Regions from separate parts of the Homo sapiens genome. Here regions 1, 2, 4, 5, 6 and 7 are each linked to region 3. The links are contacts of gene promoters, found by promoter capture Hi-C in blood cells and fetal thymus (Javierre and others, 2016). All regions are on one chromosome and are shown on one strand. The core of a region is centred on a gene start or on the middle of the fragment in contact, and the rest is flanking DNA. Distances in the headings are between cores, read along the strand shown. Region 1 has its middle 2.3 kb from the start of C12orf56. Region 2 overlaps XPOT (exportin for tRNA). Region 3 holds the start of CAND1 (cullin associated and neddylation dissociated 1). Region 4 has its middle 59 kb from the start of GNS. Region 5 overlaps TBK1 (TANK binding kinase 1). Region 6 has its middle 3.8 kb from the start of GNS. Region 7 overlaps XPOT (exportin for tRNA).

Region 1 (3,762 bases), core at 813-3,312, 2.9 Mb before region 3:
TCTTGTTGCCCAGGCTGGAGTGCAATGGCGCCATCTCGGCTCACCGCAACCTCCCCCTCCCGGGTTCAAGCGATTCTCCTACCTCAGCCTCCTGAGTAGCTGGAATTACAGGCATGCGCCACCACGCCCAGCTAATTTTGTATATTTTAGTAAAAACGGGGTTTCTCCATGTTGGTCAAGCTGATCTCCAACTCCCGACCTCAGGTAATCCGCCCGCCTCGGCCTCCCAAAGTGCTGGGATTACAGGCGTTAAGTCACCTCGCCCAGCCTTTGAGAAAGGGATTCTTCACATGAATTGATGTGAGCACACCCAAACCAACCTAAGGCATATGGTTTTGTTTCCAATGCCCAGGACAATCTATGCAGGAAGAATGAATGGGTGATGCTGGCATCTTGAAAAGTTGAAGCTGATAGACTGAAGAATGCGGATTACATACCCTGAGGCTGCAGAGGAGTAAGTATTCCTTAGTTTTTACAGGCCAAGAATAACTTACTAATTAGGTTAGAGAAATGAGAAGGGCACAACAGAAATGCTCTAAGTCAGAAGTTCCATTTTTTATTTCGAATCCTAGAAAAGTTATTCTCTTCCCCTCCCCATTGACCCAAAAACCTGATAATGAAACCATATCGTTCATTGCTGTGGCTGCCAGCAACCCTGAATCAAATTTGATATATTCTTTATATTCTCCCTTTCTACATATTTTATTATTGTATACTGTATGTTATAAGCAACTTCAAATCCCTTGTGGAAAGAAGGTATAAATATATTACAATCCATAAACAGATATTGTAGACTACACTAGTACAAAGGGAAAGAGAAATGTTTTGGTCTGGCTAAACTTTTTTTTTTTTTTTTTTTTTGAGACAGAGTCTCCCTCTGTCACCCAGGCTGGAGTGCAGTGGCATGATATCGGCTCACTGCAGCCTCTGCCTCCTGGGTTCAAGCCATTCTCCTGCCACAGCCTCCCAAGTAGCTTGGACTACAGGTGTACACCACCATGCCTGGCTAATTTTTTTTCTGTGTGTATTTTTAGTAGAGACAGGATTTCACCATCTTGGCCATGGCTTGTCTCCTGACTTCAACTGATCTGCCTGCCTTGACCTCCCAAAGTGCTGGGAATACAGGCATGAACCACCGCCATGTAAGGGTCTGGCTAGACTTAAGTCTAAGATCATGTTAAGGAACTCAAGTGAGTAAAGAGAAGTGCCACCTGCTGGCAAAATCTTAAATGACCTAGTAGTTAAAGTTTTCTTAGGATCTCATCACACATCTGAGCCTTCCTAACTTCATAAATGGATGAAAAATGAATGAACTACACCATCCGTAGCAACCTTTATTGATAAAAGATGCCGCATGGCTATTTCCTCCAAAATAAAGACTACTCATTATCTAAACCACTCTAAATAGAGTTTGTTGCTTCAAACTAACAGAAAGGCAAAGGCGCTTCACCTCTGCTGAATAGCCACACCTCACAAAAGCAGTTGAAAGATGAATGACTACAATATCAGAGGTGGAAAGTGAGGCCCACATAAGGGAAAGGCCTTATCTTAGTCTACTATTTTGTGTCTCTCAGGCTTCCTACTTCATACCTACTTCCCAGGACTAAGAGAAACAGAATGACTGGACCAGGACCAAAAAAGACAGCATACTTGATATATCTGCCAAGAAGCCCATCTTGAATAAGCTTTTGGTGACAAGTGCACTAAGCTTAGCAAACATTAAAATGAAGCACAGGCTGGGTGTGGTGGCTCATGCCTGTAATCCCAGCACTTTGGGAGGCCGAGGCGGGTAGATCAGTTGAGGTCAGGAGTTTGAGACCAACCTGGCCAACATGGTGAAACCCCATCTCTACTAAAATTACAAAAAATTAGTTGGGTGTGGTAACACATGCCTGTAATCCTGGCTACTCGGGAGGCTGAGGCAGGAGAATTGCTTGAACCCGGGAGGTGGAGGTTGCAGTGAGCTGAGATTGCCCTACTCCACTCTGGCCTGGGCAACAGAGCAAGACTCTGTATCTAAAATTAAAAAATAAATAAATAAATAAAATGAAGCACAGAAAGAAGGGAATTTGACTGGGAGATTGGTGATCAAGGTGACTTCAGTTAAACTTTTAACTTCGTGGCACACAGAGAAGGCAATACAATGGTTTCCAGGCACTGTACAGCAGTGTTGCCAAGGTAACAGCAAAATTTCTATTGCAGGAAATGGATTTAAATATATAGGAAAGATCACTAGATTTGGAGTCAGGAGAACTAGATAAGGGCACTAACTCTGTTATCTATCAGACTTTTGGAAAGTCACAACCTTTCCGAGCCTCAGTTTCATCATCTATAAAATGTGAGGATCAAATGTGATGAATTATAGACTCTATGAGCACTACAGACATATGAAGCATTCACATTCCCTTATCTTTTGGTAAGCTTTACATCAATCCATGGCCCATAGGCCACCTGCAGCCCAGGAAGGCTTTAAATGTGGCCCAACACAAATTCATAAATGTCTTAAAACATTATGAGATTTTTTTGCGATTTTTTTTTTTTTTTTTAGCTCATCAGCTATCATTAGTGTTAGTATATTTTATATGTGGCCCAAGACAATTCTTCTTCTTCCAATGTGGCCCAGGGAAGTCAAAAGCCTGGATACCCCTGTTTTACATGGTTAACCCAAATGCACCAAAGATAGGTACCCCCTCCTTATCTTGTAAGTTCATCCAAACTCAAGAAACATTTGGCAAAGGAACTCCTGCAATCAAGCACTTAATAGATGTTTCTTGACAAAATTATCAAAAGGAATGGGACATTACTTACCTGGACTAATCCTCAAATGCAGTCTCCTTGAATTTCATCAGAACAGTGGTCTTAGGTACAGGGATGGTCAATTTAAATAATTCGAAGCACAGTAGTTATGAGCATAGAACTGTAGAGCCAGATGACCTGGGTTCAAATTCCAGCTCTCCTATTCAGTAGCTGAATGACCTATGCCTCAGTTTCCCCATCTATGAAATGGAGATAATAGTACCAACCCCCAAAGGGTTATTACGAGGATTTAAAAAGTTTCAATAGTACCTAGAACAGGAACCTGGACTGGAGTAAATACTATATAAGCGTCTAAAGAACAAGTTGACTGGGCATGGTGGCTCACACCTGTAATCCCGGCACTCTGGGAGGCCCAGGTGGGTGGATCACATGAGGTCAGGAGTCCGAGACCAGCCTGGACAGCATGGTGAAACCCCATCTCTACCAAAAAATACAAAAATTAGCCAGCGTGGTGGCGGGCACCTGTAGTCCCAGCTACCTGGGAGGCTGAGGCACAAGAATCACTTGAACCCGGGAGGCAGAGGTTGCAGTGAGCCAAGATGGCACCACTGCACTCCAGCCTGGGCAACAGAGTGAGACTCTGTCTTAAAAAATAAAGAAAGAAAGAAAGAATAAGTTCAACAAGTATGTGATTTCCTGTTACATATGTGGTCGTTCTGCTCCCTATCTACAAGGTAATATTAAATTCTTCTGATTGGATACAAGTCTAACTTTCTGAGATTGACCCAAGGCAAATTTTACCTTTTTTGGGTCACATTTTTAGTGGAGAAGAGACCAGCAGGTTAGGCCATGAGAACCATGTAAGGATTCCAAACTAGAAGTACTCTTCAATGCTTCTAGGGATCCCAAGTATTCCCATTCCCCCCACTTGAAACTAAAGACAGACAGTACACACAGTAAGATATTTAGAATATGTGGCCTATAAATAGAACCTGACCTTTTTTT
Region 2 (3,814 bases), core at 402-2,901, 2.9 Mb before region 3:
TTCCCAAAAGGCCTTTCTCCCCTACCCCTGCTATTCCCAAAAGGCTTTTCTCCCCTACCCCCAATCCAATTAGTTTTTTGGCGTCTTTGGTTAACGGTAATTGAAACAAAAAGCCCCACAGCCTTTTTTTGTTTTTTTTGAGACAGAGTCTCGTTCTGTCACCCAGGCTGGAGTGCAGTGGCGTGATCCCAGCTCACTGCAACCTCCACCTCCTGGGTTCAAGCGATTCTCCTGCCTCAGCCTCCCAAGTAGCTGGGATTACAGGTGTGTGCCACCATGCTCCACTAATTTTTTTGTATTTTTAGTAGGGGATTTTACCATGTTGGCCAGGCTGGTCTTGAACTCCTGACCTCAAGTGATCCACCTGCCTCGGCCTCCCAAAGTGCTGGGATTACAGGCATGAGCCAGCACGCCTGGCCCCCCACAGCGTTTAATGGAAGTAGTAAGACTTGGTCTCCCTACCTTATAGGTCTTGAGAGAATAATATCATTTTTCACATCATTTAGAGTTTGTTCCATGTTTGCTCAAATGAATATGCATTCTATCAAAAACTAGGATGCCTTTTGCAGCTTATTATTTGAGAATGTTGGAACCTATATTGTGAAGAAGTGGATTACCTCTCAGAGATTAAAAAAAATCCTTAAATAAGAGTAGTCAGTGTTAAGTCATTTGTGGATTTTTTTTTGTGTGTTTTGTTTTTTTTGAGATGGAATCTCACTCTGTTCTCCAGGCTGGAGTGCAGTGGCGCAATCTTGGCTCACTACAACCTCTGCCTCCTGGGTTCAAGCGATTCTTGTGCCTCAGTCACCCGAGTAGCTGGGATTACTGGCATGTGCCACCAAGCCTGGCTGATTTTTGTCTTTTTAGTAGAAACAGGGTTTCACCGTATTGGTCAGGCTGGCTTGAACTCCTGACCTTAAGTGATCTGCGCACCTCAGCCTCCCAAAGTTCTCAGATTACCGGTGTGAGCCACTGTAGCTGGCTGGTTTGTGGGTTTTTGTATCTACTATTGAAAAACTTTTTTTTTTTTGAAATTTTTAGAATTGGCTGGCAAGAGCAGAGATCTGTAAAATGCAAAACTAAGTCCATTGCTCAAAAGCTAAATGACTGGTTTTTCATTATCCTGTTCCTTTCATTAGACTTCTGTCATAGTACTTAGTAAACACTCCAAAGGATATTGAACTCTGAGGTCAGCCATTCTAATGTTTTAAAGAAGGTTTGTGATATTTGTATCTGGAAGTAGACAAATTATTATAATTACTGTAATAGTCTGCATTTGTCATTTTTATACTTAACTGCAGTTGCACAATTGCATTTTTAAGTACTAGAGATAAGTAAAACACTGCATAAATTAGGTACTTCTACTATTTAAAGTAGAAAATGATTACTTTCTATACCTTATTAAGAAGATCTTGAAGACTAAGAAAGCTTGAGGACCTTTATGGCATACTTTAAGATTTTTAGGGGCCAGGTGGGGTGGCTCATGCCTGTAATCCCAGCACTTTGGGAGGCCAAGGCGGGCGGATCACGAGGTCAGGAGATCAAGACCATCCTGGCTAACACGGTGAAACCCTGACTCTACTAAAAATACAAAAAATTAGCCCAGCGCGGTGGCGGGCGCCTGTAGTCCCAGCTACTCGGGAGGGTGAGGCAGGAGAATGGCGTGAACCTGGGACACGGAGCTTGCAGTGAGCTGATACGGTGCCACTGCACTCCAGCCTGGGCAACAGAGTGAGACTCCGTCTCAAAAAAAAAAATCAGATTTTTAGGAATTACACATTAGTGGAGTAGTTAGCAGAGCCCATTTTTCTGAGAATTAGGCTCTAACTTTTAGTTGTAATTTAGATAAGTTCCAAAATAAGTTTTTAAACATTTAAGCTTCTTTGCATGATTTTATCCATTTACGTTATTCAGGATAAGCATCTATTTGTTTATCAAGTAATGTTTTCTTTCAACTTTGTTTTTTGTGGCAGATGTTTATAAATTCTTCTGTGGGATCAGAGGGCACGCCTATTACAACCAGAAAACTACAAGTATAACAGCGAGGATGGATGAACAGGCTCTATTAGGGCTAAATCCAAATGCTGATTCAGACTTTAGACAAAGGGTAAGTTACTCTGCTGAATCATTTTTTAATCATGTCACCACAGATTGGCATTAGAGGACTTGAATAAAAATGCACCTGGCAAAAGTTTACTTTGGGTAGAAATGAACAGAAACAAAAAAATTTGAGGTATTTGAATATATTTTGAATATAGAAACAGTGAGTGTTGTGATTTATTTTCTGTTTACTTGGCCAAACAAAAGTATTAAAATCTCATATGATTCAAGGCAGATCTTTATGCAACATCAGTCATTATTTCTAATTATTTAAAAATTGTAATGCAAAGGATTCGTTTAAGAGACTTTCCATAGCAGCAGACATGTGTATTTTATTTTCTCTTTCCTTGGCTTGATCTATACAAGCTGTTTTAACACTTACCTTAATGATTTTTTTTTTATTTTAATTTTTTTCTAGAGATAGGGTTTCACCATCTTGCCCAGGCTGGTCTCGAACTCCTGAGCTCAAGCGATCTGCCCACCTCAGTCTCCTAAAATGCTAGGATTATAGGCATGAGTCACCCTGCCCGGCCACATTAGTGATATTTAACTTTCTTGTTATTTGGTCTAGGCAGACATAAATAAGCAGTTATGATAGGTTATGTCTTAAGTAAAATGGTTACATGACAAGAATCCATTATAAAGTGCTGGGATAGTTGGATAAATGTAAACAATTAAATATAATGTAGCCTACAACTATAATCATGACTATAGCTGAATGATAGAAAAATATAAAGAATGAGCCTATAATTAATTTTTTTTAAAGACGTGGGCATTTGGAACTATAGGGTAAGTGGAAAGGAAAGAGGCATTTTCTTTTTACTTTTCATAGCAAAGAATACTTTTTATAAATGAGCTAAATGAGGTTAACAATCTCACTAAAAATTATAGCAGTTTTTATTCTTATTTTAAGAAAAAAATCTTTTAAAGCAGTAAAAAACAATCCCAACTAGTTTCTAATACAGTACCATGTGCATGTCTCTGCTACTAAATAAGTAACGAGCCCTTCAGATACAGGAAAATAATAGGAATTGAGATTTAAGTATCTGGCTAATTACAAGATACCTATCAAACAAGTTAGGACATCAAAAGACATTTAAAATCCATGTCTTCTGTGTGTAAACAAATCTTTCTTGTCATAGGGTTTTATGCTACCTACCTTCAAACATAGTTGAAGTATCATAGATCTTTACCTTTAGTCTAGCTTGGTATTGCATGCTTGTAATTAAAAGCCTTTGACTGTATGTTTAGTTATTAAATGGCCTTTACTGTTATTTTTATGTGCCTCTTGAAATCTTTCATTTCTTAAGTTCCAGCATCCAATTTTTGGATGAAAGAGGCATTTTCTTTGCCTCTTAAGTTCCAGCATCCAATTTTTTTAAATGTGCCATGATTTCTTTTTCAGAAAATTAAAACCAATACATTATTAGTGGTTTTAATACAGAAGCTCTGCTTTTTGTCAGTAAAAATGGGTTCTGTCACATACGTGTTTTAAGCATCCAGGTCCAGGCATAATTCAGTATCCATTTAGCCAATCTGAATAACAATTTATTAGGATGAAAGGGAAGAAATCTTAAAGTGAATTCTGAAAGCCCTTTTGTTGCAGTTCGGGAGTAGTGGAAACTTAATTCAGTTTGGTGGTGAGAAGAATGACTGTCTGCCAACCCCAATTGCTCAGTTGTCTATCTGTAATTCTCTGTTTTTTACATGGGCA
Region 3 (4,046 bases), core at 1,355-3,854:
TCTTCCTCTGCTTGAGGATTGTGGGTCCCATTGTTGAAGCAGCTTGGAAACCACCGGCCCTTCTGCCCGCCGCCGTCAACAACTTCTGGGTGTTTTAAGTGATACATCCACAAGAGAGAGCCTTCTTGGGTGTTGATACATTTCCAAACCACAACAATCGCAGTTGAGACAACCAGCACTGGAGGAATTACGTTTCCTTTGACATTCATTATTTTCTCCTTATCATCTGCCCAGCTAATTTTTGTATTTTTAGTAGAGAAAGGGTTTCACCATATTTGGCTGGGCCGGGCGTGGTGGCTCATGCCTGTAGTCCCAGCACTTTGGGAGGCTGAGGCCAGTGGATCACCTGAGGTTAGGAGTTATTTAACTCTTAAAACAACCTGAGGTAATATCCTGATCATCATTTACCCACGAAGAAACTGAAGTTGAGAAAGATGAAAATGAATTGCCTATGACACCAAGTAAGTGGCTGTAAACATGATTTATATTTAAGGAATCTGACTCCAAATATTATAGTTCAGCTGGAAATTCAAAAGTGAAAGAATTTACACACAGAAAAAGACAAACCATGATTTGCTTTCTGAGTGGACACAGGCTAAAAGAAAGTATTATTGATAATACCAAATGACTGAGGCCTTGAGGTCCACACATACAAAAAAAGACCTGCTTCTTTGTGTGTGTGTGTGTGTGTGTGTGTTTTACATTAAATATGGTGGAAAGGCTATTCAGAGCAAAAGGCAATTAATTGTGGCTGAAGCACTAAGGACAGTTTGATGAAAGATATATTAATCATGGCAGATTGGTAAAATGAAATATGGCATTACTGGGGAGAAAAAATATCATATATTACGTATATATTATTATTATCATTTTAAGACGTTGTCTCACTCTGTCGCCCAGGCTGGAGTGCAGTGGCACGATCTCGGCTCACTGCAACCTCCGCCTCCTGGGTTCAAGCAATTTTTCTACGTCAGCCTCCCGAGTAGCTGTGACTACAGGCGCGCCACCATGCCCAGCTAATTTTTGTATTTTTAGTAGAGATGGGGTTTCACCATATTGGCCAGGCTGGTCTCGAACTCCTGATGCCCTGATCTGCCCGCCTCGGCCTCCCAAAGTGGTGGGGTTACAGGCATGAGCCACCGCACCCGGCCTTTATATTACATACATTCAAGTAGAAGGATACATGAGAGCAGATCAGAGGTATGTGTGAAATTTAAACACATATTATGAGGCTAAACCAAGTTTCATCTGTTTTATTAACTCCTATTGCCTGACTTTGAAGTACTCAGTAATAGTTGATGAATACAGAAAACAATGGTAAAGGTCAGGTAGATTTGATCGGATTTGAGTTATGTGTTAGTAGAGAGCTATTTAAAGGTTTGTTGTTGTTTTTAACAGGAGTATCAAGTGAGATTGATTTTTCATCTCTTCACCAGGCTCTCTGTTCTTTTAGAAAGGCCTGTCAGCTAGCTCCATCCCTAACACTTTCAGGGATGTTGACCCCTAGCTGGCAAAACTTGTGTTTAAAATCCCAAATATTAAGCAGATGAAAAACTTGGATACTAAATACTTTCATAACTCATCTCCACGAATTTGTACGTCTGAGGGAGCAATACACAGCTGCAGGTCCATCAAGGCCACAAAAGCTAACTACAGAGATAGTCTTTTAGCTATTTTGAAATCAGTAGGGCCTGACTACAGCCATCTGTCGCATACCCATTACTCTTACTAAGGTCCTGCTGGCGTCAGAGAGGTGGTTCTACGATGCACGGTAGGAGTGTGTCTGGCCAGAGAAGTGGGGAGGCTCAGCTGCCTTGGGAGGTGCAAGTAGTAGCGCTAGGAAGCTGCTGCTAGGCCTCTGGCAAGAACACCAACTGATCCGCAATGCGCCTGGCCAAACTGCAGCAGCCTGCTCTGCAAATACTGCATAACAGAAAAAGCCTGTATTGGAGAATATAAGAATCCGCGGCAGAAACGGAGTGCGCGACGATTCTAAGGTTTTTACCCAGCACGGCTCCCCCATCAGACTGCAAATCCCAGCATTCACTCCTTCCACGGGAGCCAATGAGGAAGCTACTAGTTCCCGCAGCCAATCACATTCTGAGCCAGTGTATCACCCGACTGAATTCTGGGATTTGTGGTTTTTACGTGGCAACATTACACCACGGTGGCTACGGCAATGCAGGCCACGCGTCTGATCCCAAACGACACCTCCCTGTTATAAATTCTTATGTTGGTTCCGCAAGCTAACTCCTTAACTGTCGTTACTCCCAGGCTTCCTCCTTCTCAAAGCTCGTAATCTTTTTCTCTTAATGTCATTAAACAATCAAGTTATTTTCAGATTAAGGCCCACTTGCTCCACTCGTCCCCTGTCCCTTAACCGTCGCTTTAGAGTCTCGCGAGAACAGCCCCTTTTTTTTGTGTTGTCATGCCTCCAAAAGGCGGGTCACATGAAAACTGACACAGGCTTCAGCCAACCGAATTGTTTTTTAACTCTCTTCTCCACAGCGTGCGTGGGGAGGCCTCCGTGAACTCTGACCTTAGCTTTCCGTAGCGCCCGCGTCTGCCGCCCCCGCCCCCGGAGCGAAGGAGGCGGGCTTTGGCCTTTTGCCCTAGGGAGCGAGTGCGGAGCGAGTGGGAGCGAGACGGCCCTGAGTGGAAGTGTCTGGCTCCCCGTAGAGGCCCTTCTGTACGCCCCGCCGCCCATGAGCTCGTTCTCACGCGAACAGCGCCGTCGTTAGGCTGGCTCTGTAGCCTCGGCTTACCCCGGGACAGGCCCACGCCTCGCCAGGGAGGGGGCAGCCCGTCGAGGCGCCTCCCTAGTCAGCGTCGGCGTCGCGCTGCGACCCTGGAAGCGGGAGCCGCCGCGAGCGAGAGGAGGAGCTCCAGTGGCGGCGGCGGCGGCGGCAGCGGCAGCGGGCAGCAGCTCCAGCAGCGCCAGCAGGCGGGATCGAGGCCGTCAACATGGCGAGCGCCTCGTACCACATTTCCAATTTGCTGGAAAAAATGACATCCAGCGACAAGGACTTTAGGTGAGGCCGAGATCCGACCCTCACCCCACCTCGGGGTTCTCGCAGCCGCGGCCCTGGCCGTCACGCAGGCCTTGCCCCACCCCTTCGGCCGTAGCCGGTAGCTTCTCTGCCCCGAAGTCTCCAGCCCACCGGTCCGCTGGCCTCCCGATCCCTGCGGAGCCCCTTTCCTCTCCCCTCTTGCAACCCCCTCCCCCCATTCTTTCTCCTAGGCAGTTGCCCGCCGCGGTCTCTAGGCCCCGTTTGCTTGTCTCAGCGCCCCCACATCCTTCCCTGCCCCACCAGGAGGCGATTCTTGCGTCTCAGGTAGCGCGAAGGGGCTAAACCACCCACCATTGTGGAGAAGGGAGTTGCTCTAGGCCGGGAGACCGGGCGCCGGGCCTATTCGCTTGCCATCCTGCGGCGCTAGGCCGCCTTGCTCGCTGGGGCCCAAGCTGCTGCCCACTCGGGGACCCGGCAGCCTCCTCTCTGCCCGCAGGTGCGCGTGGGCCTTGCTGCATTCAGGTGGAATGATGAACTTTTGCGCTCTTGGCTGATACATAGTTCTTTTGTGGATTATTAATTTTCGTGAAGGTGGGAAGAAGGGGGAGGGGAGCCAGGATGGAGGAAACTTCGCTCATAGGGTTTTCCCGCCAGCATCACTGTCAGTTCCTCTTGTCAGGTAAAACCAACTTAGGAACTCGGGGTTTCAGTCTCATGTCCTCATATCCAAAATCACTGCCAAAGGGGTGGATTGCTGGATCTTAATCATAGCAGACGGATCTTCAAAAGGAAGAGATGTTTAATACGGACCTGGTGAATATGAAGCTTTATTACAGCAGTTCTGTTCAGGAGATCGGTACTGTTGGTTCCAAAGTGTTGTAATATGCATAGTGAAGATTTGTTATATTTTTACAGGTTATCTTTGTTTTTATTTTTCCTTGCACGCTTCGGTGATTGTTGCATTCTTTCCCGCCTCCCATCTCTTCACAAATAAGTTCTCAATCTAAAAAAAAAAAAAAAAAGAAAAAAAAATCG
Region 4 (4,055 bases), core at 620-3,119, 2.6 Mb before region 3:
GGATTACAGGTAGGACTTTTTTTTTTAAGTCAATTTTTATTACTAAAAAAAAACCTTTTTTTTTGAGATAGAGTTTCACTCTGTCTCCCAGGCTGGAGTGCAGTGGCACGATCTGGGCTCACTGCAACCTCTACCTCCTAGGTTCAAGCAATTGTCCTGCCTCAGCCTCTGGAGTAGATGGGATTACAGGCGTGTGCCACCACACCTGGCTAATTTTTGTATTTTTAGTAAAGACGGGGTTTCACCCTGTTGGCCAAGGTGGTCTCAAACTCCTGACCTCAGGTAATCTGCCGGCCTTGGCCTCCCAGAGTGCTGGGATTACAGGTGTGAGCCACCGTGCCTGGCTCACATGAATATTTATTGAAACAACAGTTATCAGTTGGTGACAAATTCGGAGACACTGTCAGATAACGCTAATTAGGTATTTTGTTTTATTGAAAGAAGGGGGCTGGGCGCGGTGGCTCATGCCTGTAATCCCAGCATTTTGGGAGGCCGAGGTGGGCAGATCATGAGGTCAGGAGTTTGAGACCAGCCTGACCAAACATGGTGAAACCCCGTTTCTACTAAAAATACAAAAATTAGCTGGGCGTGGTGGCGCACACCTGTAATCCCAGCTACTCAGGAGGCTGAGGCAGGAGAATTGCTTGAGCCAGGGAGGCGGAGGTTGCAGTGAGCCGAGATCGCCCCATTGCACTTAGCCTGGGCGACAAAGTGAAACTCCGTCTCAAAAAAAAAAAAAAAGAAAAGGGGCCAGGCACAGTGGCTCATGCCTGTAATCCCAGCACTCTGGGAGGCCAAGGCGGGCTGATCTCTTGAGGCCAGGAGTTCAAGACCAGGTTGGCCAACATGGCAAAACCTCTTCTCTGCTAAAAATATAAAAATTAGCCAGGCGTGGTGGCACACGACTGCTGTCTCAGCTACTCAAGAGGCTGAGGCAGGAGAATTGCTTGAACCCGGGAGGCGGGGTTCAAGCCCCGTGATTGCGCCACTGTACTCCAGTGAGCCGTGAGTACTGCAGTGAGCCATGATTGCGCCACTGTACTCCAGCCTGGGCAACAGAGCAAGACTCTATCTCAAAAAAAAAAAAAAAAAAAAAAAGGGTGGTGGTGAAGGTCTACACTATAGTAGCCAATGCCAACAAAGTGCTTACCATGTGCTAGGCATTCTTCTGAAATGCTTAATATGTATCAACTCATTGACTCTCCTGTGACGTTATCACACTATTTCGTCATATCCCTTTTTTCACAAATGTGGAAATGGACATGTTGAGGTTTAGCAGCTTGCTCAAGGCCACTGTGTGAGTGAGTGGCAGAGCCGGACACTGCCCCGTTTCTCTACCATCTTTTCCTGTAAGTGCTCTCTAGTTTCTCAGTTAAATTGCCTATTGAGTAAAGGAGCAAAAGTCTGTTAAATTGCCGTAATGGACAGTTTGCCCAGAAGCGTAACTGTTTTGGTGCCATTGGGGTTTGTTGATATCAGTGTGTTCTCATCCATTTTGGTTCATTTATCATTTCATTCAGGTGATTATACTAAGTCACATAGAATGAAATGCTGACCTGTGCTTTCTTTTTATTTTTTCGGATGGGGTTTCACCTTGTCATCCAGGCTGGAATGTAGTGGCGTGATTACGGCTCACTGCAGCCTTAACCTCCTGGGCTTAAGAGATCCTCCCATCTCAGCCTCTCAAGTAGCTGGGACAACAGGTGCCTGCCACCACATCCAGCTAATTTTTTTTCATTTTTGTAAAGATGGAGTCAGGCTATATTACCCACGCTGGTCTCAAACTCCTGGGCTTAAGTGATCCTCCTGCTTTGGCCTCCTAAAGGGCTGGGATTACAACCACCATGCCCAGCCCAGACCTGTATTTTCATTTAGAGGTTCTGTTGCATGGGGGAAATAACACGGCAGGTAACCAAACTTAGTGGTCTCACTGTAGTTGGTAAGACAATTCTCCTGGAACCACCAGAAGAACAGCTTCAGTACTACAGAGTGCTATAGGAGCCACAAAACTTGTGCAAAGGTTTGACTCATGGAACCATTCCCCCAAACAAGGCTCATCCTCTGCAGAGAGAAACTAGGAGGTAAGTATTCAAAGTCTAAAGCATATGCTTGTGTGGTGTGAATCACTACTTGCTTAATTGAATGTTCAAGAAAGAAGTTTTATATAAGGATAAAGGTGGGGGGGCAGGTGTGGTGAAGGCTGGAATAGGAGGGAGTGGGGACTAGCTGGGTTATATACCAACAACTCTGAAGCTAAATCATTTATTCCATCTTCAGGCTTGGATCTGGGTTTGGGTTTTTGTTTTTTGTCTTTTGGGGTTTTTTTGCCTGTTGGTTTTGGTTTCATTTTGTTTTGTTTTTTGACAAGTCTTTCCCTATTCCAGGAGATGAGAATAGCAGGGTACAGGATAGACCCCTTTGATCTTAAATAGTGTTTCCAAAGGATGATTGTGGTTCTCACGTGTCTGGCTGAGGCTGCATTTGGCATCAAGTGAACTCTGAAAGCTCCTCTCTTCTTCTTGTTTCTGAGAAATGTGAGCACCTTTAAGTATTATTTACGCACAAACAACAAAACATCAGGGCTCTTTGTAAACCTCAAAAGAAATTGGGATTTGACTTTGTTTTGGGGAGGGAGTTATTTCAATCAGGAGAGTTCATTTTTTTCTCTTTCTAAACGAGGAGTTCCGATTACAATGGGCCTGGGTCATTAAGGGCATCTATCTGGTTTGTGTTTGCTGGCATATGTACTGCCGGCTGTTGAGCCACGCTTTGTGGACACGTGGGATTCATTAAGCCCTCTGTGGTTCCTGTCTCTGAAGTGGCTTTCTAGGGAGGCTCTGCTCTACAGGGTTTTTCCATTTACAGGTGCAATAAAATTTGTTTAAATTCTAAAAATTCTGAAGCAGCAAACTTTAGTGCCTTGCCAAAACTTAGAATTCTTGAATTACTGCTGTTGCAGGCAGGGAGGCAACAGCTTAAATTCAAACCTTTTACTCAGAACTATAAATGGTGTCTTCAGATTCTTTTAAAGATGGTGAACATTTCAAACATTTTTCTTGCATATGTGATCTTTGCAAGGAAAACATTCATAGTCAATTTTGTTTAGGTCAGATTGAGTATTTCGAGGCCTTATTAATAAAAGATGCTTGACTGAGCAGGTAAGGCCAACCATAGAAACTGAGGAACAAAAAGACCAGCTTTCAGAAAACTTCCAGTTCTTTTTTTTTTTTTTTCTGAGACAGAGTCTCACTCTTGCGCCCAGGCTGGAGTGCAGTGGCTCGGTCTTGGCTCACTGCAGCCTGCGCCTCCCAAGTTCAAGCGATTCTCCTGACTCAACCTCCCAAGTAGCTGGGATTACAGGCACCCACCACCACGCCCAGCTAATTTTTGTATTTTTAGTAGAGACAGGGTTTCACCATGTTGGCCAGGCTGGTCTTGAACTGCTAACTTCAGGTGATCCACCCGCCTCGGCCTCCCAAAGTGCTGCGATTACAGAGGTGAGCCACTGTGCCCAGCCATCAGAAAACTTCCAGTTCTATCGCCTTTATCTAGATACAGTTTGTATAGGAGTTTGTGTGTGCTGGGGAAGGAAGTGGGCTTTAAGGGTGTAGTGGTGTTGGGGAGGCCAGAAATAATGTCCCCTTTATCATGGAAAGTTATTTGTTATGAAGGTGGTAGTTAGGAAAAGGCAACGTTTAGGATCTTTCGGAAGATATTTCAAGACAAAATGAGGTTACCACACTATTTCTTCACAGACTGCCTTCGGAACTGTGGAAGGTGCTGAATTTTGTTTTTTCGAGGTAGGTCTTGCTCTGTTACACAGTAGCATGATCATAGCTCACTGAAGCCTCTAGTTTCTAGGCTCAAGCAATCATCCCACCTCAGCCTCCCAAGTAGCTGGGACTAGAGGGGCATGCCACCATGCCCAGCAAATTTTTTAATTTTTTTGTAGAGATGAGGTCTGGCTATGTTGCCCAGGCTGGTCTCGAAATCCTGGCCTCATGATCTTTCTGTCTTGACCTCTCAAGACACTAGGATTATAGGTGTAAGCCACT
Region 5 (3,731 bases), core at 357-2,856, 2.8 Mb before region 3:
AAATGAGCAGACTGGAGCTTTGCTGCAAGAGGGACCACTCAGCTGTTCTGCTACCCATTTATTTTTAAGGATAGGACTCCATTCCTTGAAGTAACAGTAGTCATCATAAGAAAAATTTCATTTTAAGAGGTTAGAAGAGCTGTTGTCCTAAATGTACTGTTATACATAAGAAATTCAGCACTGGTGTGGTGACTCACGCCTGTAATCCCAGCACTTTGGGAGGCCGAGGTGGGCGGATCACGAGGTCAGGAGATCGAGACCATCCTGGCTAACATGGTGAAACCCCGTCTCTACTAAAAATACAAAAAAATTAGCCGGGTGTGGTGGCACTCGTCTGTAGTCCCATCTATTCAGGAGGCTGAGGCAGGAGAATGGAGAGTGGCGTGAACCCTGGGAGGCAGAGCTTCCAGTGAGCCGAGATCGCGCCACTGCGCTCCAGCCTGGGTGACAAAGCGAGACTTTGTCTCAAAAAAAAAAAAAAGAAGGAAAGAAAGAAATTCAAGTGACTGGGTGTGGTAGCTCATGCTTGCAATCCCAGCACTTTGGGAGGTTGAGGCAGGCAGATTGCTTGAGCCCAGAAATTCGAGACTAGCCTGGGCAACATAGTGAGACCCCGTCTCTACAAAATAATAGAAAAATTAGCCAGGCATGGTGGAGCATGCCCGTAATCCCAGCTACTTGGGAGCTGAGGCAGGAGAATCACTTGAACCTTGGAGGTGGAGGTTGCAGTGAGCCAAGATCGTACCATTGCACTCCAGTCTGGGTGACAGAGCAAGACTCTGTCTCAAAAAAAAAAAAAAAGAAAGGAATTTAAGATGATTTTAACAAAACCATTGTAACATTGTACCAATGATTTTGTAGTTCAGATTTAGCTACTTTTTACTGTGGTTTGTCTTCAAAAACAAATCCAACTTCTTCACCTAATAGGAATTTGGAAAATGTTAGTTTTTTTTTTTTGTTTTTTTTTTTTGAGATGGAGTCTCGCTCTGTCACCAGGCTGGACTGCAGTAGTGCAATCTCGGCTCACTGCAACTTCCGCCTCCCAGGTTCAAGTGATTCTCCTGCCTCAGTCTCCTGAGTAGCTGGGACTAGAGGCATGTGCCACCACACTCAGCTAATTTTTGTATTTTTAGTAGAGACCGGGTTTCAGCATGTTGGCCAGGATAGTCTCAATCTCTTGACCTCGTGATCCGCCCACCTCAGCCTCCCAAAGTGCTGGGATTACAGGCGTGAGCCACCACACCCGGCCGGAAGATATTAATTCTTATATGTGTATGTTCAACAGATACTGAATCTCAGGTGAAGCAAAGTGCCTTCATCATTGTAGCAAATCCTACATTTAAATGAAATCAGATAAGTACTGGCATATAATCAAAATTTATTTTTTATGTTGATTCCCAATCAATGATTTTTTTTTTCAGACAACAACAAGACATAAAGTACTTATTATGGAATTTTGTCCATGTGGGAGTTTATACACTGTTTTAGAAGAACCTTCTAATGCCTATGGACTACCAGAATCTGAATTCTTAATTGTTTTGCGAGATGTGGGTATGTTTGTTTATTTATATGATATCATTTGTATATAAAATTTAATAACAGAATTTTTAAAAAATATCTTCCATTCAAAACTGAAGACCTTTATGCAATGCTTCATTAGATATGACACCAAAAGCACAAATACCAGAAATACATAAATTGGATTTCATCAGCATTAAACATTTTTGGGCCTCAGAGGACATCAGGTAAGTGAAAAGACAGCCCATAGAATGAGAAAAAAATGTTTGTAAATCATACACCTGACAAGGGATTTTTATCCAGACAACTCAACAATAAAAAGCCAAATAACCCAATTTAAAAATGGGCAAAGGATTCGCATAGACATTTCTCCAAAGAAGATACACAAGTGGCTAACAAGTACATAAAAAAAAGCTCAACATTAATTAATTAATAACCGACATCATTGGTTATTAGGGAAATGCTCATCAAAACCACAATGAAATACCACTTTATACCAATGAAAATGACTAATATCAAAAAGACAAACAGGGCCAACCATGGTGGCTCACGCCTGTAATCCCAGCACTTTAGGAAGTGGAGGCCGGCAGATTGCTTGAGTCCAGGAGTTCAAGATCAGCCTGAGCAACACAGTGAGCCCCTGTCTCTACAAAAAATAAAATAAAAAATAGCCAAGCATGGTGGCATGCACTTGTAGACAGCTACTCAGGAGGCTGTGGTGGGAGGATCACTTGAGCCCAGGAGATTGAGGCTGCTGTGAGCCTTGATTGTGCCACTGCACTTCAGCCTGGGCAACAAAGCAAGACTATCTCAAAAAAAAAAAAAAAAAAAAAACAAGTGTTGGCAAGAATATGGAGAATTGGAACCCTGATACATTGCTGGTAGGATTATAAAATGATACAGCCATTCTAGAAAACAGTCTAGAGTTCCTCAAAAAGTTAAATATAGAATTATTTAACTTTTGACCAAATGACCCAGCAGTTCCACTGCTACGTATATACCCCAAAGAATTAACATATCCATATAAAAACTTGTACTCCAGTGTACTTAGCAGCATTATTCATAATAGCAAAAAAAAAAAAAGATGAAAACAGCCCAAATGTCCATCAACTGATGAACAGATAAACAAAAATGTGGTGTGTCTATACAATGGAATATTGTTTGTTTACAAAAAGATATGAAGTAGTTATATATGCTACAACATGGATGAACTTGAAAACATTATGCTAAGTGAAAGAAGCCAGACACAAAGGCTGCAATATTATATGATTCCATTTATATGAAATGTCAAGAATAGGCAAATCCATAGAGACAGAAAACAGATTAGTGGTTTCTGGGGGATCAGGAGAAGATGGAGTTGGGTATGAGTTGTCTTTTTGGTGTGACAAAAGTATTCTGAAATCAGTGGTGATGGTTGTATAACTCTGTGACCATACTAAAAATGACTGAATTGTACACTTTAAAAAGATGAATGTTATGTTTGAATTATATCTCAGTGAACCTATTTTTTAAAAAAAATACTGCAATCAAAGGAAATAACATCTTAAGAGAAATGAATCAAATATTTGAGGAATGGGAAAAAGTCAAGTGATAAGGTAAAAGGTTGGTGGGAATTCTTGAACTTGTCACTGGAAGCAGAGTGATTATTTAGGTGAGGATACAATGAGAGAGAAACAATATTACTAGTATGCTACAGCCTGTTTAATCAAATAGAAATTATAGATATGATGTCTTCCTAAGTGTATTGGTAGTCCTGAGTTTTAATAATTATACATTGATACCCCTAAACCTTTTACATATTTTGAATTTGAACATTCATCTATCAGCCCTCAAGCAAATGTATAAAGTTATCACTCAGTGACACTGTCAGTTAGACAAAATAGCTTAATTTCAGCAAAGTAGACAACTTTGCCCTTAAGAAAAAAGAAGAAAAAATGGGCTTTTTGGAATAGTGCCAAGCATATGAGAATACATTTTTACAGAAACAAGTTTGACACTTTGCTGTTTTTCTGTTTCTTTTTTGCTGTTTTACATATTGAGTTCAGTTTACTTTTAGGGAATTTTTTTTCCCAAGATAAAGAAATGTAAAACTCTGGTGAAAGATTGATATCTTTTTTGGGAATCTTTATTATTTTTATGTTTAAACAGATCACCCACATATATATAACCAAAGTAATTCAAGAAATCATATGCTTAAGACTGTTTTGTTACAT
Region 6 (3,759 bases), core at 483-2,982, 2.5 Mb before region 3:
AATTGTGTAATTAGTTGCCCACTTTGTTCAGGATGCTGCTGTCAGAGGCGATTGAACCAGAGCAACTCCATCTTGAAAAGGGGCTGAGTAAAATAAGCCTGAGGCCTGCTATGCTGCATTCCCAGATGGTTATGCATTCTAAGTCACAGGATGAGATAGGAGGTCATAAAGATACAAGATACAAGATGCATGTCATAAAGACCTTACTGATGAAACAGGTAGCAGTAAAGAAGCCGACTAAAACCCACCAAAACCAAGATGGTGATGAAAGTGACCTCTGGTCGTCCTCACTGCTAAATTCCCACCCAGCGCCATGACAGTTTACAAACGCCATGGGAATGTCAGGAAGGTACCCTCTCTGGTCTAAAAAGGGGAGGCATGAATAATCCATCCCTTGTTTAGCATATCATCAAGAAATAACCATAAAAATGGGCAACGAGTAGCCCTCGGGCTGCTCTGCCTATGGAGTAGCCATTCTTTTATTCCTCTACTTTCTTAATAAACTTTCTTTCACTTTACTCTATGGTCTTGTCCTGAATTCTTCCTTGCTCGAGATCCAAGAACCCTTTCTTGATGTCTGGATCAGGACCCCTTTCCGGTAACACTGCTACACTAGTGCTGAAGAGACATTGTCCCTCGTTCATGGAATTTGCAGTCTAATGGCAGAGAGATGGACAATCTAATCTTGTATCTTGTATATGATTACAAATAGACATGCTATGAAGGAAAAGTAAAGGGTGCAATGAGCATTTAAGGTGGTGGGAGGCTGATTTAGTCTAAGGTGCCCTGAGGAAGTGATCTTTGAGTGAAATCTGAAGTTTGAGTAGGAGATAATTTGTTAATGGAGTATTGGGGTGGTGGAATGTCTCCTAAGCACAGAGTACAGCATATGCAAAGGTTCTGAGCTGGTGCATTGCAATAACTAAAAGAAGCCAGTGTGGTTAGAGCAGAGGGAGAGAGGTGGTGAGGACCCAGATCCTATTTTAAGGACTTGGGTTTTTATAGTAAGGCTAATTGGAAATTACTGAAAGAATGTAAGATAAATATAATCATACATGAACTTTTAGAAGATCCTTTAGACTGTGGCATGAAGAACAGATTGGAAGAGGACAAGCATGGGTGAGGGTAGACCAATTAGGTAGAGAGAAAAGTGGATAACAGGGACAGATTCAAATTTTGTGGGGCCTGAAGTTTATGTGCATTTGGCGAGTGGAGGCTCCTTAAGAAAAAGAATAACAATTTTAGATACAAAAGTAGGTACACAACTGAATATGTATTTAGACTAAAACAAAATATAACGTTATAAATTTTTAAAAGTTGAAAAATATTACAAATAATGCAAAAATTTAACGTAACATATTTTTATTAAGTAACTGCCAGGCATACTTCTTCATACTTTTTTCCCCTTACATTATATGGCTATGTGCTCTTTAATCATCTCTTCATATGATGTTAGTTTATAATATTTTCTAAAGAAAATAGAAAGATAATTTAGTTTTTTCTCTAGTGTGTTTGATCAGTATTTGCCTTTTATTGGTGATAATTCAGAAAAATTATTTTTCACCTCAGTTCATTATTGGTTTTATATATATGTTTAGTATTTTTGTCAAATTTCAGAAAACTCTATCAAATATCCTCTTAACATAGGCATTTCGTGACATTCTGCATTTTATTTTGTATTATTTTATTTTTTGAGATGGAGTCTTGATCTGTCTGCGCTCTTGGCTCACTGCAACCTCCACGTCCCAGGTTCAAGCAATTCTCCTGCCTCAGCCTCCTGAGTAGCTGGGATTACAGGCATGCGTCACTATGCCCGGCTAATTTTTGTATTTTTAGTAGAGATGGGGTTTCGCCATGTTGGCCAGGCTGGTCTCGAACTCCTGACTTCAGGTGATCTACCCGCCTCAGCCTCCCAAAGTGCTGGGATTATAGGCGTGAGTTTTATGTTATCTTCCTCAATGCTAGTGTGAGATCAAATCGAAAGAAATTTGAATATTTTTCAATGAGTTTATATAATTCACAAGTTGTCAATTTAATAGCCTATTTATTACTTTCATTTGCAGTTTATCTCTTCCTCTTTCCAGCTTTATTGAGATATAATTGACAACAAAATTATGTGTATTTAAGGTGTACAACATGATGTTTTCATATACGTATAGAGTGTGAAATGATTATTCTCTTCCTCTTAATGAATTACTGTTTTTCTTATGATTTAAACTTTTTTTGGTTACTCTTTACTTCTTAATGTCAGGATAATTTCTCTTTACTTTCTCATTCATCTTTATCACTTTGGTTTTGTATCCTATTAATTTTTTTTTTTTTTTTTGAGACAGAGTCTTGCTCTGTCACCAGGCTAGAGTGCAGTGGCATGATCTCGGCTCACTACAACCTCCACCTCTCAGGTTCAAGCGATTCTCCTGCCTCAGCCTCCCAAGTAGCTGGGATTACAGGTGTACACCACCACATCCAGCTAATTTTTGTATTTTTAGTAGAGACAGTGTTTCACCATATTGGTCTGGTCTCGAACTCCTGACCTCAGGCTGGTCTTGAACTCCTGACCTCAGGTGATCCACCCACCTTGGCCTCCCAAGGTGCTGGGATTACAGGCGTGAGCCACCATGCCCAGCCTAGCCAAGCTGTTTTTTAAAGAGCATGCAGCCCTTTTTCCTAATCATTATAATAGCTGTGTTAACAGATGACTGATTATAAATGCTGTTTAACCACAGGTTAAAATAACAATCTTGTTTTACTTTGTTGAATAATGTCTCAGATGTTTTCAGTTGGCTAAAAATATTTAAAAATTGCTCATAGGTTTTCCTGTTAGAAAGTAGTGCCCAATAATTGCCAACTCATCAGTGGTTGTCATATCCAGAATAGAATACATAATAGTATTTGGTGTTTGGTTATGTGTTTGACTTACCACTTTTTAAACATTTTTTTCATTATTTCAATTTTTTCCATAAATTGTTTTAGTAAAATAAGTTGTGTTTTCATTTTGACATGTTTTTCCAAGAGCTTAAGCAAAAATGCATCCAATTCAGCTATTAGTTGAAAAATTCCTGTGGAATTTTCATTATAGGAACAATAGTACTTTTCATCATGACCTCTGAAGTGTAACTTTCACTTAACGTTTAATAACCTCAAAACTTCCATCTCTGGCCACGATGGAGTAACAGTGCCAGACTAATTCTCTTGCTAAAAACAACTAGAAAACAGGGCAATATAGATGCCTTTATACAAGTGACAATAGTGAAGGACTGTGATCCACATGTAAAGAGAAACAAACAATTGCTCCAACTTTTTGCCTGGTGGAGGGACATTCTGAACCAGAGAGCAGGAAATAGGATCTCATGCTTGACAAAGTTGACTTGCTAACTTTGGGTGGACAGAGATCAAAGTTGAGGGAGATTGAGGCAGCTGGAAGTTTGCAGGGAAGAATTCCAAAGAGAAGGGTGCTGTATAGATTTAAAAGCTCCATAAGTTTGTACAGATGTCTTTCTGAAACTTTGCTGAACACTGAGATGTGCATTCACAGGGTGAAACACCACCAGAAGGCAAGGCAAAGAATGACCAAGGTAATGTAAAACAAATAATTCTCAGAGGGGTTGGGATGTTTGAGATCCAGCCAGCCATAGGGGAAAGTCCTCCTTGATCATCAGGAGCACTCCTTAGGAACCTGGAAAGGTCGTGCCCTAATAGTGGAGCTAAACTATCATGAGTAAAAAGTACTGTGCACCCACAGAAACAAAGCTTGGGTAC
Region 7 (3,948 bases), core at 767-3,266, 2.8 Mb before region 3:
TTACCATTGTGTAGGCGAGAGATCACAGTAGTAGCAGCATTGCCTGTGACATTGTCGCTAGCAGAAATCAAAAATATTTTCATATTACATAAGTTGTTGCCAGCATCTCAAAATACTGTTTATGCTTATCACCATTTTGAAATTATGAGTTACTAAGTAATATCACTACACCTTGTTACCCAACAAGTTAATAAGTCCTTACTGTTCTAGCATACTTTAGTTTGATAACCATTATTCAGTATAATTGGCTTCTATCGTAATCCCATGTATTATGTTTTATGCATTTTTTTAAAAAAACATTCTAAAGGAGCCTAATAGGCTTTTCCAGACTGCTGAAGGGGACCACAGCAGAGTTCTGAAGCTTTGTACCAGGTAGTTCATTGTGTGTACACCAAGCTTATCAATGCTTAATCTGTAAATCTGAAACTATTTTAAGGAAAGTGTCTGGAAAGTTACCTTATACTTTTAAGAAGTCATTTGTATAATATTGTTTCTTGGCATATAATTTTCCAGATTTCTTGTCCAGTAGTACATGGAGTTAATGAAGTATCAAACTTGATTAAAACTAGAATTACAATCTCTTATGTAGATTCCAAAATTTGTTTCTTCATCAATAGTGTTTTTATTTTATTGTAAGAACACTTACATGAGATATATACCATCTTAACAATTTTTACGTGCACAACACAGTATTATTAATTATAGGGACAGTGATGTGCCTATAAAATATAGGTGGATCTCCAGAACATATTCATCTTGCATAACTAAGACTTTATACCCACTGATTAGCAATTCCCATTTCCCACAGCCCCCATCTCCTAGAAACTACCATTCTACTCTCTGATTCTGTGAATTTGACTACTTTAGATACCTAATATAAGTGGAATCATGCAGTTATCTCTCTTTTTGTGACTGGCTGTTTCACACAATGTCCTTTAGGTTCATCCATGTTGTTACATATGGCAGGATTTCGCAATTTTTTAAGGCTGAATAACATGCCACTGTATGTATATATCACATTTTCTTTATGCATTAATCCACTGATAGATTCATTGGGGCTATTTTCACATTGTAAGTGCTACAGTTAACATGGGAATGCTAATATGTCTTTGAGATGCTGATTCCAATTCTTTTAGATAAATACCCAGAAGTGGGATTGCTGGATTATATGGTAGTCCTATTTTTAATTTTTTGAAGAAACATCTTACTATTTTCTATAGTGGCTATACACCATTTTGCATTTCCATCAGTTGTGTAGCAGGGTTCCAGTTTTTCCACAATGTCACCAACACTTGCTGTCTTTCATTTTTTTGTAATAGCCATTCTAACAGGTGTGAGGTGATATCTCATTGTGGTTTTGATTTGCATTTCCCTTATGATTAGTGATGTTTGTTTTTTCATACACCTGTTAACCATTTGTATTTGGAGAAGTCTATTCAAGTCTTTACCCCATTTTCTAATCAAGTTATTAAGTTTTTTGCTATTGAATTAGAGGAGTTTTTTTATATGTTAGAAATTAACCCCTTATCAGATAAATGGTTTGCAAATATTTTCTCCCATTCTTTAGCTATTCCAGAGGTTGCCTTTCTGCTCTGTTGATTGCTTACTTTATGGTGCAGAAGCTTCTTAATTCAATGTAGCCCCACTAATGTAGCTTTTCGTGATATCAATGAAATCATTTCAAAGACCAGCATCTTGAAGCTTTTCTCCTATGTTTTCTTCTAGTTTTGCAGTTTGGAGACTTACATATAAAGTCTTTAATACATTGAGTTGATTTTTGTGTAAGATAAGGGTCTCGTTTTCTTTTGCACGTAGATATCCAGTTTTACCAGCACCATTATTGGAGAGATTATTGTTCCCCATTGTGTATTCTTAGTACCCTTGTTGAAGATCAGTTGACTGTATACAGGAGTTGATTTTCAAATTCTATTTTGTTCCATTGGTTTATATGTCTGTCTTAAAAGAGAGAGGGTCTCACTCTGTTGTCCAGACTCAAGTGCAGTGGCACCATCATAGTTCACAGCAACTACAAACGCCTGGACTCAAAGAATCCTTCTGCCTCTGCCTCCCAAGTAGCTAGGATATATGTCTGTCTTTTGCTAGTACCATACTGTTTTCACACTGTAATATTAAAATATATTTTGAAATCTGGAAGTGTGGTACATCCAGCTTTGCTCTTTCTCTGGATTGTTTTGGCTATTCAGGGCCTTTTGTGATTCCATGTAAATTCTAGTTTTGTTTTTTCTATTTCTATAAAATATGCTCTTGGAACTCTTATACGGATTGCCTTGAATCTGTACGTCACTTTGTTTTTTATTTTTGGAATGATTAAGAAGCTTTTTAAAATTTTTTAAATTTATTTTTATTTTTTTTGAGATGGAGTCTCGCTTTAGTGCCCAGGCTGGAGTGCAGAGGCACGATCTTGGCTCATTGCATGCAACCTCCGCCTCCCAGGTTCAAGTGATTCTGGTGGCTCAGCTTCCTGAGTAGCTGGGATTACAGGCAGGCACCACCATGCCTAGCTAATTTTTGTTTTTGCTTTTTTTTTTAGTAGAGACCAGGCTGGTCTCAAACTCCTAACCTCAGTGATCTTCCCACCTTGGCCTCCTAAAGTCCCAGGATTACGGGCGTGAGCCACCTTGCCTGGCCATTAAGAAGCATTTTGTTGACCTGATGGAACAGGGATATTCATTTAGCAGCTCAGTTTTATATACTCTTTCCCCTGTGTCATTTTACATAATGTGTAAAGTGGGGGGGGGACCCTTTTATTGCAAAGACATTTCCAGAGTCGTCATCTTTTTCTTTCTTTTTGAGACAGTCTTGCTCTGTCACCCAGGCTGGAGTGCAATGGCACAATCTCTGCTCACTGTAACCTCCACCTCCCGGGTTCAAGCAATTCTCCGGGTTCAAGCAGTTCTCCGGCCTCAGCCTCCCAAGTAGTTAGGATTACAGGTGCCCACCACCATGCCTAATTTTTGTATTTTTAGTAGAGACGGGGTCACCACATTGGCCAGGCTGGTCTTGAACTCCTGACCTCAAGTTATCCACTGGCCTCGGCCTCCCAAAGTGCTGGGATTACAGGCGTGAGCCACCACACCTGTCCAGAACCAGGGGCTTTTCTGTGACCAAGGTAACCCCATATCAATTACCCTAGCCCATAGTGTCCTTGGACCTTACTGCTAGGCACTGGCTTTCAGTGTTGCTTTGTACTTCCCTGTCGTCTCCTAATGCCATTAGGCCTGGATAGGGCACCTGCCCTTTAACTTCACAGGTAGATTCCCATCAGAACTACTTTGAAGGCCAAAATGAGCTGGGTGAGAGAGCTGCTTTTTCTCCTGCTCTCCTTTCTTGTGTCCTCATTCTTCCCCACGATTTTTTTGATGTGTTCCATAATCTCCTTATTCATCTTGATTTCTATATCCACCAGGACCTGCTCTTCATAATATAAATAGAATTGTAGGAAGGGTAATGGTATTGTGTTCTTAAACATCATGATCTGCATCCAAGGGTTTTTTGTTTGTTTGAGATGGAGTCTTGCTCTAGTCTTGCTCTGTCACCCAGGCTAGAGTGCAGTGGCGCGATCTCGGCTCATTGCAACCTCTGCCTCCCGGGTTCAAGCGATTCTCCTGCCTCAGCCTCCCGAGTAGCTGGGATTACAGGCACCCGCCACTGCACCTAGCTAATTTTTGTATTTTTAGTAGAGACAGGGTTTCACCATCTTGGCCAGGCTAGTCTTGAACTCCTGACCTCGTGATCCACCCACCTCGGCTTCCCAAAGTGCTGGGATTACAGGCGTGAGCCACCGTGCCCGATCCAAGGGTTTTTTTTGTTTTTGGATTTGAGGTATGTTGAAAAATACAAATTTCCTGCCACTGTCACCCAGCTCCCCATGTGTGTTATAATTCACTCTTATGACCTTCACCAAGTCCCTGAACACTACTACATCAC

The links. Contacts are between HindIII fragments. The CHiCAGO score rates a contact against its expected background, and 5 or more counts as called.
Region 1: a contact is called between a fragment that was not itself captured here and the fragment with the promoter of CAND1 in region 3, in 1 of 17 cell types (neutrophils). The highest score is 8.5, in neutrophils.
Region 2: a contact is called between a fragment that was not itself captured here and the fragment with the promoter of CAND1 in region 3, in 1 of 17 cell types (neutrophils). The highest score is 5.2, in neutrophils.
Region 4: a contact is called between a fragment that was not itself captured here and the fragment with the promoter of CAND1 in region 3, in 1 of 17 cell types (neutrophils). The highest score is 6.3, in neutrophils.
Region 5: a contact is called between a fragment that was not itself captured here and the fragment with the promoter of CAND1 in region 3, in 1 of 17 cell types (neutrophils). The highest score is 9.1, in neutrophils.
Region 6: a contact is called between a fragment that was not itself captured here and the fragment with the promoter of CAND1 in region 3, in 1 of 17 cell types (neutrophils). The highest score is 7.6, in neutrophils.
Region 7: a contact is called between a fragment that was not itself captured here and the fragment with the promoter of CAND1 in region 3, in 1 of 17 cell types (neutrophils). The highest score is 7.9, in neutrophils.

The regions. Positions count from the first base shown.
Region 1 is chr12:64,391,225-64,394,986 of GRCh38, forward strand. No RefSeq gene overlaps it. Among named protein-coding and RNA genes, the nearest start is that of C12orf56, 2.3 kb to the left of the region's middle. The HindIII fragment of the contact is 713 bases long and covers 1,707-2,419 here.
Region 2 is chr12:64,407,989-64,411,802 of GRCh38, forward strand. It overlaps XPOT (exportin for tRNA), which reads left to right. Exons shown (of 25, transcript NM_007235.6): 2 at 1,974-2,107. The coding sequence starts at 2,048. Among named protein-coding and RNA genes, the nearest start is that of XPOT, 5.5 kb to the left of the region's middle. The HindIII fragment of the contact is 450 bases long and covers 1,427-1,876 here.
Region 3 is chr12:67,266,754-67,270,799 of GRCh38, forward strand. It overlaps CAND1 (cullin associated and neddylation dissociated 1), which reads left to right and starts at 2,605. Exons shown (of 15, transcript NM_018448.5): 1 at 2,605-3,032. The coding sequence starts at 2,965. It also overlaps the pseudogene GGTA2P. RefSeq lists enhancers at 1,741-2,040, 2,181-2,440, 2,720-3,371. The HindIII fragment of the contact is 8,089 bases long and covers 1-3,834 here.
Region 4 is chr12:64,698,702-64,702,756 of GRCh38, forward strand. No RefSeq gene overlaps it. Among named protein-coding and RNA genes, the nearest start is that of GNS, 59 kb to the right of the region's middle. The HindIII fragment of the contact is 6,460 bases long and covers 1-4,055 here.
Region 5 is chr12:64,462,913-64,466,643 of GRCh38, forward strand. TBK1 (TANK binding kinase 1) reads left to right here. Exons shown (of 21, transcript NM_013254.4): 4 at 1,422-1,551. Among named protein-coding and RNA genes, the nearest start is that of TBK1, 13 kb to the left of the region's middle. The HindIII fragment of the contact is 5,197 bases long and covers 1-3,731 here.
Region 6 is chr12:64,761,302-64,765,060 of GRCh38, forward strand. It overlaps a transcript of TBC1D30 not described here. Among named protein-coding and RNA genes, the nearest start is that of GNS, 3.8 kb to the left of the region's middle. The HindIII fragment of the contact is 4,032 bases long and covers 1-3,748 here.
Region 7 is chr12:64,439,330-64,443,277 of GRCh38, forward strand. All of the region lies in intron 23 of XPOT (exportin for tRNA), which reads left to right. It also overlaps the pseudogene LOC100420899. Among named protein-coding and RNA genes, the nearest start is that of TBK1, 11 kb to the right of the region's middle. The HindIII fragment of the contact is 635 bases long and covers 1,700-2,334 here.